2 separate regions of the Homo sapiens genome follow, and region 1 is linked to region 2. Evidence: promoter capture Hi-C in 16 types of primary human blood cells and fetal thymus (Javierre and others, 2016). All regions are on one chromosome and are shown on one strand. The core of a region is centred on a gene start or on the middle of the fragment in contact, and the rest is flanking DNA. Distances in the headings are between cores, read along the strand shown. Region 1 overlaps KRT40 (keratin 40). Region 2 holds the start of KRT32 (keratin 32).

The links. The method cuts DNA at HindIII sites, captures the fragments that hold promoters and counts their contacts. A CHiCAGO score of 5 or more calls a contact.
Region 1: a fragment that was not itself captured here is called in contact with the fragment with the promoter of KRT32 in region 2 in 4 of 17 cell types (total CD4 T cells, naive B cells, naive CD8 T cells and 1 more); the score reaches 5.7 in total CD4 T cells.

Annotation. Positions count from the first base shown.
Region 1 is chr17:40,976,604-40,982,483 of GRCh38, reverse strand. It overlaps KRT40 (keratin 40), which reads left to right. Exons shown (of 7, transcript NM_001389244.1): 3 at 21-177; 4 at 1,333-1,494; 5 at 1,574-1,699; 6 at 3,460-3,680; 7 at 4,188-4,769. The coding sequence ends at 4,287. It overlaps LOC107985072 (a long non-coding RNA gene), which reads right to left. Exons shown (of 4, transcript XR_001752886.2): 3 at 1,877-2,035; 4 at 1-156. Among named protein-coding and RNA genes, the nearest start is that of KRT40, 4.8 kb to the left of the region's middle. RefSeq lists an enhancer at 1,877-2,478. The HindIII fragment of the contact is 2,975 bases long and covers 1-2,857 here.
Region 2 is chr17:41,466,108-41,472,451 of GRCh38, reverse strand. KRT32 (keratin 32) reads left to right here and starts at 5,066. Exons shown (of 7, transcript NM_002278.3): 1 at 5,066-5,594; 2 at 6,276-6,344. The coding sequence starts at 5,127. It also overlaps the pseudogene RNU2-32P. The HindIII fragment of the contact is 3,316 bases long and covers 2,757-6,072 here.

The DNA of each region.
Region 1 (5,880 bases), core at 121-2,620, 490 kb after region 2:
TTTCTCTTTTGCTGTGAAAGGTACGAGAGTGAACTGTCCCTTCGCCAGCTGTTAGAGGCTGACATCAGCAGCCTGCATGGGATCCTGGAGGAACTGACCCTGTGCAAATCTGATCTGGAGGCCCATGTGGAGTCTCTGAAGGAAGATCTCCTTTGCCTTAAGAAAAACCATGAAGAGGTAAGGAAAGTGGCAACTCCGCTGAAGGACTCCGAGAGTAACGTACTTACATTGACAGATGATCTGTTGATGTTTGTAAATCGAATTTGGGCAGATGTTGTTTAAGCTGGAATAAAACTACTTGAGGCAGGGCCAGGCATGGTGGCTCACACCTGTAATCCAAGCACTTTGGGAGGCTGAGGCAGGAGGATCACAAGGTCAGGAGTTCGAGACCAGCCTGACCAATATGATGAAACCTCATCTCTACTAAAAATACAAAAATTAGCTGGGCATGGTGGCAGGCGCCTGTAGTCCTAGCTACTCGGGAGGCTGAGGCAGGAGAATCACTTGAACTCAGGAGGCGGAGGTTGCAGTGAGCCGAGATCTTACCACTGCACTCCAGCCTGGGTGACAGGGCGAGACTCCATCTCAAAAAACAAACAAACAAACAAACAAACAAAAACTACTCGAGGCATTATTACTATTCAACCTGATCATTCCAGTGTGTCTCTGATTTAAGGTGTGAAATAACCCCTAGACAGCGCCAGAGGAAGGAATCAAACTCTTCTCCTGCCCTTGCCTTTGTGGAGGAGGTAACTTCACAAATGGCTTCCTTTGGAGGCTTTATGCCACCCCTAGCTCCAGTCCACAGGGTATGAAAATCAGGCTGAGGAACAGACTGTGAAGTCCATTTCAAAAAAGGGATAAAGACTGTGCACTATCTGGACCAGTGTTTTTAAATATTCCGCATTTATAAACTTCTAAAAATCATAAAATATACAGCCACTGATATATTGATAAAGCTAGAAAATGAAAAGCTGAATGATGTAACAAAGTACATTTGCTCTTTGAACGTTTGTTGATGACAATCATAGCTAACATTTATTGACACCTTACTATGTGTCATAATTAACTTTTATAAGTTAATTATGTGTAGATTGACTCTTCTAGATCTCACAATAACTTTCTGGAAAAATGTCCAATTATTATGTCCATTTTACAGACGAAGAAACTGAGGCCCTTCTAAGTGGTGAAAAGAGATTCAGCCCAGGCAATCTGAATCAAAATCTCACACTTTTACCCACTGCTCCAAAAAACAGAAGTAGAATGCCATTGGATGTCAAATGGATTTTTCCCCACCATTCTGTGACATTCTTTACACCATCCCACTTTCAGGAAGTCAACTTGCTTCGTGAACAGCTTGGCGACCGCCTCAGTGTGGAGCTGGACACTGCCCCCACCCTTGACCTCAACAGGGTCCTGGATGAGATGCGCTGTCAGTGTGAAACGGTGCTTGCCAACAATCGCAGAGAAGCTGAAGAATGGTTGGCTGTTCAGGTCAGTACCCAGATTGAAAAAATGTCAGGCTTACAGACTTCTGCCTTTTTTGAATTCTCTAATGGTGTCTGTGTTTCAGACAGAAGAGCTGAATCAGCAGCAACTGTCCAGCGCGGAGCAGCTGCAGGGCTGCCAGATGGAGATCTTGGAACTGAAACGCACAGCCAGTGCTCTGGAAATTGAGCTCCAAGCACAGCAAAGCCTGGTGCGTGAGGCAAAGGCAGTGTCCGTTGTGTCACTGATAAGTCAGGCCCTGAGATGTTAAGCCCTCTTCCATATCCGAGGATCACATTTCCTTGCCTTTCCCGAGTACTGCCGTTTACCCAGCTATTAATAGAAGCAGAAGTGACAGGTCCACAGCTTGTCCTCTAAGATGCCTTACCTTCACTCCTGGGCTTGAGTCTGATGCTGCAGCAGCCTCCAGAGACAGGGAGGGAGAAGCAGAGCTGGAGAGAAACCTCCGGGCCATGGTCGCTTAAGCATTCTGGCAGGTTTTAATTCTCATTTGATTCAGGCCAGTTTTCCAGGCTCACTGTTATATCTAAAACAAAGAATCATTTTCAAACATTTCATCCTACAGTTTCCCAGGATCTACACTTCAACCTTATCCTTCACTGCACCACCCCCCACTCAAGCAACAGGAACACCATGCGTTCAAGATGACATGAACCAGTTCTGGTCAAGCACCACTGTGTGCATGTCATTAGGCCCTGCGGAGAACACCTAGAAGAACAATAGCTGAGCATTCATCCTGTGAGAGGCACTATGCTGATTTAAGGCTCACAGTAACTTTACCGGATAGATACCTTTATCCCATGACACAGATAAGGAAAACTGAGACTCAGATTAAGTAACTTGCAAAGGATGCAATTCTAAGAGGCAAACTTGGAAGCTGAGTTCAGCCAGTTGAATCCCAGAGTCTCTTCTCTCTCTCTTTTTAAATTTATTTTTATTGATATATAATATGCGTAAATTTTTTTTACGTAGATGTGATATTTTGTTACATGCATAGAATGTGTAATGATCAAGTCAGGATATTTAGAGCATCCATCACCTCAAGTATTTATCATTTCTATGTGTTGGGAGCATTTCAAGTCCTCCCATCTAGCTATTTTGAAATGCACAGTGTATTGTTGTTAACTGTAGTCACACTTCTCTGCTGTCCAACATGAAAACATATTCTTTCTGTCTAACTGTATGTTTGCACCCATTAACCAACCTCTCTTCATCCCCTTACCACACATATGCCAGTCCCAGCCTCTGGTATCCAGAGCCTCTTCTCTTAATAGCACTATACTACCCCTCCCTGCCAAGAGCCCAAACTCAATCTTTCCTCTCATATGTTGTGGATAGTCCTTAAGCTTCACAAATATGTCATGTATTGCTGTAGTCATAGTGGTGGTAGTGATAGTTGACACGTAGAACAGTGGCAGTATGGCTGGCACTGTTCTAAATGCTTTACGCACATTAACTCTTTTTTTTTTTTTTTGGACGGAGTCTCCCTCTGTCGCCCAGGCTGGAGTGCAATGGCATGATCTTGACTTACTGCAAGCTTTGCCTCCCGGGTTCACACCATTCTCCTGAGTAGCTGGGACTACAGGCGTCCACCACCGTACCCAGCTAATTTTTTATATTTTTAGTAGAGACGGGGTTTCACCGTGTTAGCCAGGATGGTCTCGATCTTCTGACCTTGTGATCCGCCCGCCTCGGCCTCCCAAAGTGCTGGGATTACAGGCCTGAGCCACCGCGCCCAGCCCGCATATTAACTCTTAATCTTCACAACCGTCTAATGAAACAGATACTTTGTATTCTCCACTATACAGAGAATAAAACTGAGACTCACAGAAGCTAAATAATTTGCCAGTGGTCACATAGCTAGAAAAGGGTAAGCAGGAATTTGAAAGTAGGCACTCTGGCCCGAGAGACTGCACTTCATGGTCCTTTGGACAATGTTTCCTCCCGCAGACAGAATCTCTGGAATGCACCGTGGCAGAAACCGAGGCCCAGTACAGCTCCCAGCTGGCCCAAATTCAGTGTCTGATCGATAACCTGGAGAACCAGCTGGCCGAGATCCGCTGCGACCTGGAGCGACAGAACCAGGAGTACCAGGTGCTCCTGGACGTGAAGGCCCGGCTGGAGGGTGAGATCAACACGTACTGGGGCCTGCTGGACAGCGAGGACAGCAGGCAAGTTCCACAGTTACTCATGAAATCCCCCAGAGTCACAAAGAGGCTGATGTAAAAGAATCCTGTTTCCCCAAAGTCTGGACAAGTTCAGACCTCCCCAGTGTGTTTAGGGATCTTCTTAAAAAAGTGCTGAAAAGTGGCTGAGGTTAAGAACATGACACTAGAGATATTTTTAAAATATTCTAAAGGCAGATTAATTATTAGTGTAACATTTCATGCTGGCATCTCCCTTTGTTCCTGTTTTCCACTAAAGGAAAATCAGGAATAGGCCTAAGATAACATTTGCAAAATCAAGAAAAAATATAAAATACTATTCAACTGCCACTGCTACAGTGAACATGAAGTGGCAATTCTGGGTGCAGAGAAGAAACAGGCTTCAGTCAATGCTATTGTGCAGAGTTTTTTTCAGAACATAATTTGTAGGGCAAATTTTGACACGGTTTTTCTGAGTTGCCATTTTATCAACATTCCCTTGTTAATCTTGGTTGAAAATCGATTTTTCCCCAGGCTTTCCTGTAGCCCATGTTCGACCACATGCACCTCGAGCAACACTTGTGAGCCATGCTCAGCCTATGTCATCTGCACTGTTGAAAACTGCTGCTTGTGAATGTTAAGGACAGCAGGTAGAGGAATCAAAGCCAGCAGCATCCTAGAAAGGAGATGGGGCTTCAACCAGGGACATCCAAACCGGAAGCACAAATCCAGGAGGCTCTCATATCCTGGAATTGCCCTCCAGGTATCCTCAGTCTTTCTGCTTTACTATTTCCTCTCCTTCCGGCTTATTTGTGGTATACTGGAAGCCCATAAAGCATTCTTGCTCATCTCCAAATAAAACGTGTTTTATTCCTTTAGCGTGGTAAATATAGCTCTATGGCTGATTACTGTTGATAGAATATTCATTTTATGGCAAGGAAATCATCTAAACCCATAACCATAGTTTCAATGTACATAAACCCAGGCTGAAAATATTTTTTAACTCCTCAAATACAAATAAATTAATGAACCCATGAGAAATGTCATATATCTTAGAAAATAGTTGTGTGTATCTTTCTGAGGAAAAATATTAGGAATAAAATATGATAAAATGTATTTTTTGATTATAAAAGTACTAGATTCTCTTTTTTTAAATTTGGCTCATTAAAAGGGAAAAGGTCACTTATGATTTCATCTTCCAAACAGCCATAGTCAATATTTTGGGGTACTTTCTTCCAGTTTTCTTTCTTATAATAGATTTTTCCACACAGCTATAATCATACTAACATATGCACACACTTGTGTAAACTTTCTTTCATTTATGTCATCTAAGCATTTTTAATTCTAATAAAAACATAAGATTGTATTGTAGCCATCACTTTTTTTATTTTTTATTTTTTTTTTGAGACAGAGTCTTGCTGTGTCACCCAGGCTGGAGTGTAGTCACACTATCTGGGCTCACTGCAACCTCTGCCTCCTGGGTTCAAGCGATTCTCCTGCCTCAGCCTCCCAAGTAGCTGGGACTACAGGTGTCTGCCACCACACCAGGCTAATTTTTTTTTTTTTTTAGTAGAGACAGGGTTTCACCGTGTTAGCCAGGATGGTCTCAATCTCTTGACCTTGTGATCCACCAGCTTCAGCCTCCCAAAGTGCTGGGATTACAGGTGTGAGCCACTGCACCCAGCCTGTAGCCATCATTTTACTGGTTGCATAATGTACCATAAGGTACATTGATCTGTTATTGGACATTTAGGTTATAAGAATAATTATTCTCATATATTTAAAAAACAAGGTAGAGAACTTCCAGAATGATGTATATTTCCATATTCCTCCTCCTAAAAACCCTGGAAATTACATATCAAATAAACATAAGAGGACTCTGAAAGGTAGAAGAAGAAGCCAAACCACCTAAAGATGTTGAGACTCCAGGAGTGACACTGTGGTGAGCTCCCTGGATTAGCTTTTTATCTCATATATCCCAGAGGGGGAGCTGGAGAAACCAACAACCAGAAACACCAACAGGTGCAGACAAAACAAACAAACAAACAAACAGAAAGAGCTTGCTCTGCTTAAAGAACCAGAAAAGAGGCAGCCTAGAAAGGCGGAAAACCTTTAGACAATAACCACTCAACTCAGCCAAACACCACAGAAAATATCATTTCACCCACCCATATCCACACAAGGAAAGGCCAGGTGGGGAGTCCAGACTTCTATCCTTCCCAGGCTG
Region 2 (6,344 bases), core at 3,817-6,316:
TTACTGTTGTAATTGTTCTGGGATGCACCAAACCATGCCCAGATAAGATGGGGAACCTAACTGATAAACGTTGCGTGCGTTCTGATGGCTCCACCAACTGGCCATTCCCCCATCTCTCTCCCTATTTTGGGTCTACCTATTTTCTGAGACACAGCAATATTGAAATTAGGCCAATTAATAACCCTACCGTGGCTTCTAAGAGTTCAAGTGAAAGGAAAAGTTGCAGGTTTCTCCCTTTAAATAAAAAGCTAGAAATGATGAAGTTTAGGGAGGCGGCATCTTTCATAGCTAGACAGGAGGAGTCTGCCTTCAAAACCTTCAAAGGATGGGCTGACTCTCTTGCTAGGAGCTAATGCAGCTGATGACTTCAAGTGGGAAGTCAATGCTCATTTACCATTCTGAATATCCTAGGGCACTTAAGAATGATGCTAAATCTTTTCTGCCTGTGCACTACAAACGGAACGACAAAGCCTGGACGACAGTGCATCTGTTTATAACATGGTTTACTGAATATTTTAAGCCCACTGTTGAGACCTACTGCTTAGAATAAAAGGTTTCTTTCAAAATATTTCTGCTCATTGACAATGCATCTGATCACCCAAGAGCCCTGATGGAGCTGTCCAAGGAGATTAATGTTTTTGTGTTTGCCAACACAACATCCATTCCACAGCCCATGGATCAAAAACTAATTTTGACTTTCAAGTCTTATTACCTAAGAAATATATTTCATAAGGCTATAGCTGCCATACAGAGTGATTCCTCTGATGGATCTGGGCAAAGTAAATTGAAAACCTTCTGAAGAGGATTCACTATTCTATATGTCAATATTTGTGATTCAAGAGAGGAGGTCAAAATATCAACATTAACAGGAGTTTGGAAGAAGTTGATTCCAACTCTCATGTATGATGTTGAGGGGCTTAAGACTTCAGCAGAGGAAGTAACTATAGATGTGTTGGAAACAGCAAGAGAATTAAAATTAGAATTGGAGCCTGAAGATGTGACTGAATTGTTGCCATGTTATGGCAAAACGAACGGATGAGGAACTGCTTCTTATTCATGAACAAAGAAAGTGGTTTCTTGAGATGGAAACTACTCCTGGTGAAGATGCTGTGAACATCACTGAAATGGCAACAAAGGATTTGGAATACTACATCAATTTAGTTAATAAGGCAGTGGCAGGGTTTGAGAGGACTGACCCTAGTTTTGAAAGAATTTCTACTGTTAAAATGCTATCAAACAGCATCACATGCTACAGGGAAATCTTTCATGAAAGGAAGAGTCAACTGATGCGGCAAACTTCACTGATGTCTCATTTTCAGAAATTGCCACAGCCACACTAACTTGCAGCAATCATCACCCTGATCAGTCCTCAGCCATCAACATTGAGGCAAGACCTTCCACCAGCAAAAAGATTATAACTTGCTGAAGGCTCAGATGATCCTTAGCATTTTTAGCAATAAAGCATTTTTAAAATTAAGTTATATACATTGTTTTTAGGCCATAATGCTATGGTACACTTAATAGACTATAGTATAGTGTAAATATAATGTTTACATACACAGAAAAACCAAAAAGTTTGTGTGACTCACTTTATGGTTACATTTGCTTTATTGTGGTGGTCTAGAACTGAACATGCACTATCTCTGAGGTATGCCTGTATCTTCCTCTATCTCAGTGGGTCTCCAAACCACCTGAAGGACATGCTAAACACAGGCTGCTGCATCCCAGCCCCAGCCTCAGAGTTTCTGATTCAGCCAGTCTGGGATGAGCCTGAAAAACTGCATTTCTTTTTTTTTTACATTTTATTTTTATTTTTATCAAAGCAGTGTATCTACATTGTTTAAATAAAACAACATTAAATAGCAAATATTTAAAAACTGCAACATCTATGCCTTCTTTCTTTCTTTATTGTTATTATACTTTAAGTTTTAGGGTACATGTGCACAATGTGCAGGTTAGTTACATATGTATACATGTGCCATGCTGGTGTGCTGCACCCACTAACTCGTCATCTAGCATTAGGTATATCTCCCAATGCTATCTCTCCCCCGTCCCCCCACCCCACAACAAATGAGAACACATGGACACAGGAAGGGGAACATCACACTCTTTTTTTTAAAAATTTTACTTTAAGTTCTGGGATGCATTTGCAGAATGTGCAGGTTTGTTGCATAGGTATACATGTGCCATGGTGGTTTGCTGCACCTATCAACCCATCATCTAGGTTTTAAGCCCCGCATGCATTAGGTATTTGTTCTAATGCTCTCTCTCCCCTTGCCCCCCATCCCCCGACAGGCCCTGGTGTGTGATGTTCCCCTCCCTGTGTCCATGTGTTCTCATTGTTCAACTCCCACTTATGAGTGAGAACATGTGGTGTTCGGTTTTCTGTTCCTGTGTTGGTTTGCTAAGAATGATGGTTTCCAGCTTCATCCATGTCCCTGCAAAAGACACGAACTCATTCTTTTTTATGGCTGCATAGTATTTCATGGTATATATGTGCCACATTTTCTTTATCCAGTCTGTCATTGATGGGCATTTGGGTTGGTTCCAAGTCTTTGCTATTGTAAATAGTGCTGCAATAAACATACTTGTGCATGTGTCTTTATAGTAGAAAGATTTATAATCCTTTGGGTATATACCCAGTAATGGGATTGCTGGGTCAAATGGTATTTCTGGTTTTAGATCATTGAGGAATCACCATGCTGTCTTCCACAATGGTTGAACTAATTTACACTCCCACCAACAGTGTAAAAGCTTTCCCATTTCTCCACAGCCTTGCCAGCATCTGTTGTTACCAGACTTGTTAATGATCACCATTCTAACTGGCATGAGATGGTATCTCATTGTGGTTTTGATTTGCATTTCTCTAATGACCAGTGATGATGAGCTTTTTTTCATATGTTTCTTGGCCACATAAATGTCTTCTTTTGAGAAGTGCCTGTTCATATCCTTTGCCCACTTTTTGATGGGGTTGTTTGTTATTTTCTTGTAAATTTGTTTAAGCTCCTTGTAGATTCTGGATATTAGACCTTTGTCAGATGGGTAGATTGCAAAAATTTTCTCCAATTCTATAGGTTGCCTGCTGACTCTGATAACAGTTTCTTTTGCTGTGCAGAAGCTCTTTAGTTGAATTAGATCCCATTTGTCAACTTTGGCTTTTGTTGCAATTGCTTTTGCTGTTTTAGTCATGAAGTCTTTGCCCATGCCTATGTCCTGAATGGTATTGCCTAGACTTTCTTCTAGGGTGAAAACTCACATTTCTAACATGTTCCTGAGTCAGGTTGATGCTGAGAGTGACTGATAACACCTTATTATAATAATTATAGTTTTTGGGTGAGAGGATTAAATGGGCAAATTAATGCCAAGCACTCAGCACCATGCCTGGTATTTGTATACATTCCACAAGTGCTGGCTATGATTCTGAAGGGTGGCCTGATGAGTCTCATCCCTTGTAGTTGGTATTGCCATCACACCTCCTTCCATCTGATGCTATAATCTTCTCTAAATAGGTAATCCAGACAAGGTACTGGAATTTGTAGTTGTTGCAGAGAATCAAATTGTGAGAGTATTTGATCTGACCCCCTCGATTGGCATGAAGAAACTGAGGTCTGGAGAGACAAAATTACTTTCCCAAGGCCAAATGGCAAGTCAGAGGCAGTATATCTACGCTCTCCTTTTCTTATGCAATGAATGAGCTGGGTGGCATTTTCCCTTTCCTGTTCTTGTACTGACATTTCTGGGAATATGTGAAACATAAGGCAAGTACTTATACCCCAAAATTATATCAAGAAGATTACTGAATAAAAAAGTGGCTATATAGCACACACATACTAAATGTGAAGCTCACAGCTTTTGCAGCCAGGACTGAAAACCACTGCTCTAGCATGTTGCCTTCTTAAGTGAATGCCCAGGGCTTCTATAGTTGGGCAAATATGCTCCCTGTCTCCTGGCTTAGCTCATTCCAGGGCTATAGAACATCCTTTCCCAAGGGAGTGGATTCACACTGCTTCCATAGTCTGAGATCCTGAAGTGAGCCTTCCCCATCTGCCACAACAGAAAGTAAAAGTAGAACCTGTTCCAACTATTCTCAGTCTGTTCAACAAACAATTATTGAGCACTTGACAATTGTGTATATGGTGCAGTGATAATTGAATGGATGGTCCAGAGGGGGTCAAGACAGAGCAGCTGCCACCTGGAGATGTTCATGATATGGACTTTTCCAAGAGGAAGAGACCAACTGGAAAGATGTACCTGATTCTTAGGCTTCTGTTTGGGTCTTTTTTTTTTTTTTTTTTTTGCCTTTTGAAGGGGTGCAGCATTCCTGGAGGTACTGCAATACCAGGTCAACATGTAGAGTGAACAGAGCAAGCTCTTATTCCATCTCCCTGCTCCCAAAATCCATTTAATATGTTGTCCTCAGATGGAGGACGTATCAGATATTAAGACGATAAGAACAGATACCACACTTGATCTTAGCCAAAAGGCTGAGAAGTGATGCTGCCTATGTCTTGAGTTCATTCTCTCCCCACTGATATTATTTTCTTCCCCTTGGCAGGAAGATGATGTCTGTTAGGAAGCCTCTGAGGTTCCTGTTCCTTTCTGCTGGATTTATGCCGCTGCCAGCATCGGAGCAGTTTCTACCACCCACACATTTCCTTGTTAAATAGCCAGGCCTCTTCCCATGGGGAATGCTTTCATTAAAAGAGGCAGCCACTGCTGCACAGACCTGCAGGCTTCTCAGGGCTAGAGCAGGCGGGGGTGCAGTGGGCAAAGCCAGTGGAGGCACAGGCTGGGTTGTGGCAGTCTCCTGGAGGGCCTGCCCTAGTAATGAGGGCCCAGGCATGCGGCTGACCCTTTGAAGATGTGTCCTGAAGCTCTCTCATGGTGATCAATGACAGGAACCCAGACTCCTGCTTTAGCCAAATGATAAGTTTGGCCTCTTTTATTGGAAACCAAATTACAAATTAATTAGCAGCTTCCTCTGGGGCTGGGTGTGAACATCAACACCACCCAATGATGAATTTCTATCATGAGCCCCCTCACTGCAAGGGCATAAAATGGCCCGGGCGGCATGGGGTCTGTAGACATCCAGGTAGCTGTGGCTGAGGAGAAAGGGCCTCTCCAACATGACATCCTCCTGCTGTGTCACCAACAACTTGCAAGCCTCTCTCAAGAGCTGCCCCCGGCCTGCCTCGGTCTGTTCCAGCGGCGTGAACTGCCGGCCTGAGCTGTGCCTGGGCTATGTCTGCCAGCCCATGGCATGCCTGCCTTCGGTCTGCCTGCCCACCACCTTCCGGCCAGCCAGCTGCCTCTCCAAAACCTATCTATCCAGTTCCTGCCAGGCAGCCAGTGGCATCTCCGGCTCCATGGGCCCCGGCAGCTGGTACAGCGAAGGGGCCTTCAATGGCAATGAGAAGGAAACCATGCAGTTCCTTAACGACCGCCTGGCCAGCTACCTGACGAGGGTGCGGCAGCTGGAGCAGGAGAATGCGGAGCTGGAGAGCAGGATCCAAGAGGCCTCTCACTCCCAGGTGCTCACCATGACTCCTGACTACCAGTCTCATTTCAGGACCATTGAGGAGCTCCAGCAGAAGGTGAGGGCAGCGGTGAGGTGAATAGGCTCTCTGGGAAGGGAACTGGACTAGCTGGCATTCCAGATTGGAATCTCGTTAGCTTATTAAGCTATGTTCAGGACAAAGAGACTTCCCTAGGGCATAGGGTTATTTTATAATTTGAGCACTCAGCCTGAGGCTTTCATGTGGAGAGATCTGGGATCTAGTCTCAGTTCTACCATTGCCTCATTGCATGACTTTGGGGGTCCCATCCCTTCCCCAGGCCTCAGTTTTCTCATCTGTAAAACAGGGATAATAATGGTCGTTATCTAATGGGGTTGTCAAAAGGATTTGATGAGATGATGCAGGTCAAGTGCTTGGAACAGCCCCTGGTCCACGGTAAGTTTTCAGTAAATGTCAAAGACCCTTCTAACTGTCACATGAGTGACTTCAGACATGAGATTCTTCCCTTCCACATTGCTTGGCACATCCAAAATGGGGAATTTGAATTTACGAAGCTTCAGGTTCTTAAAAAATACATCTCAAGTTCTCCAAGGACTAGCAATTCGCTAAATATCTCCCAGAGTTCCAGGGAAGAGGACCTTCTGCAGGGATGGCTGCAGGGCTGCTGGATCCTACCTTTGCTGCTGTCTTCTCTTCATTTGGGTTCTTCTTGCTTCGTCTCATCCTGAACTAACCCTCTCCATGTGCCTTGGCCTACAGATTCTGTGTACCAAGGCAGAGAATGCCAGGATGGTTGTGAACATTGATAATGCCAAACTGGCTGCCGAT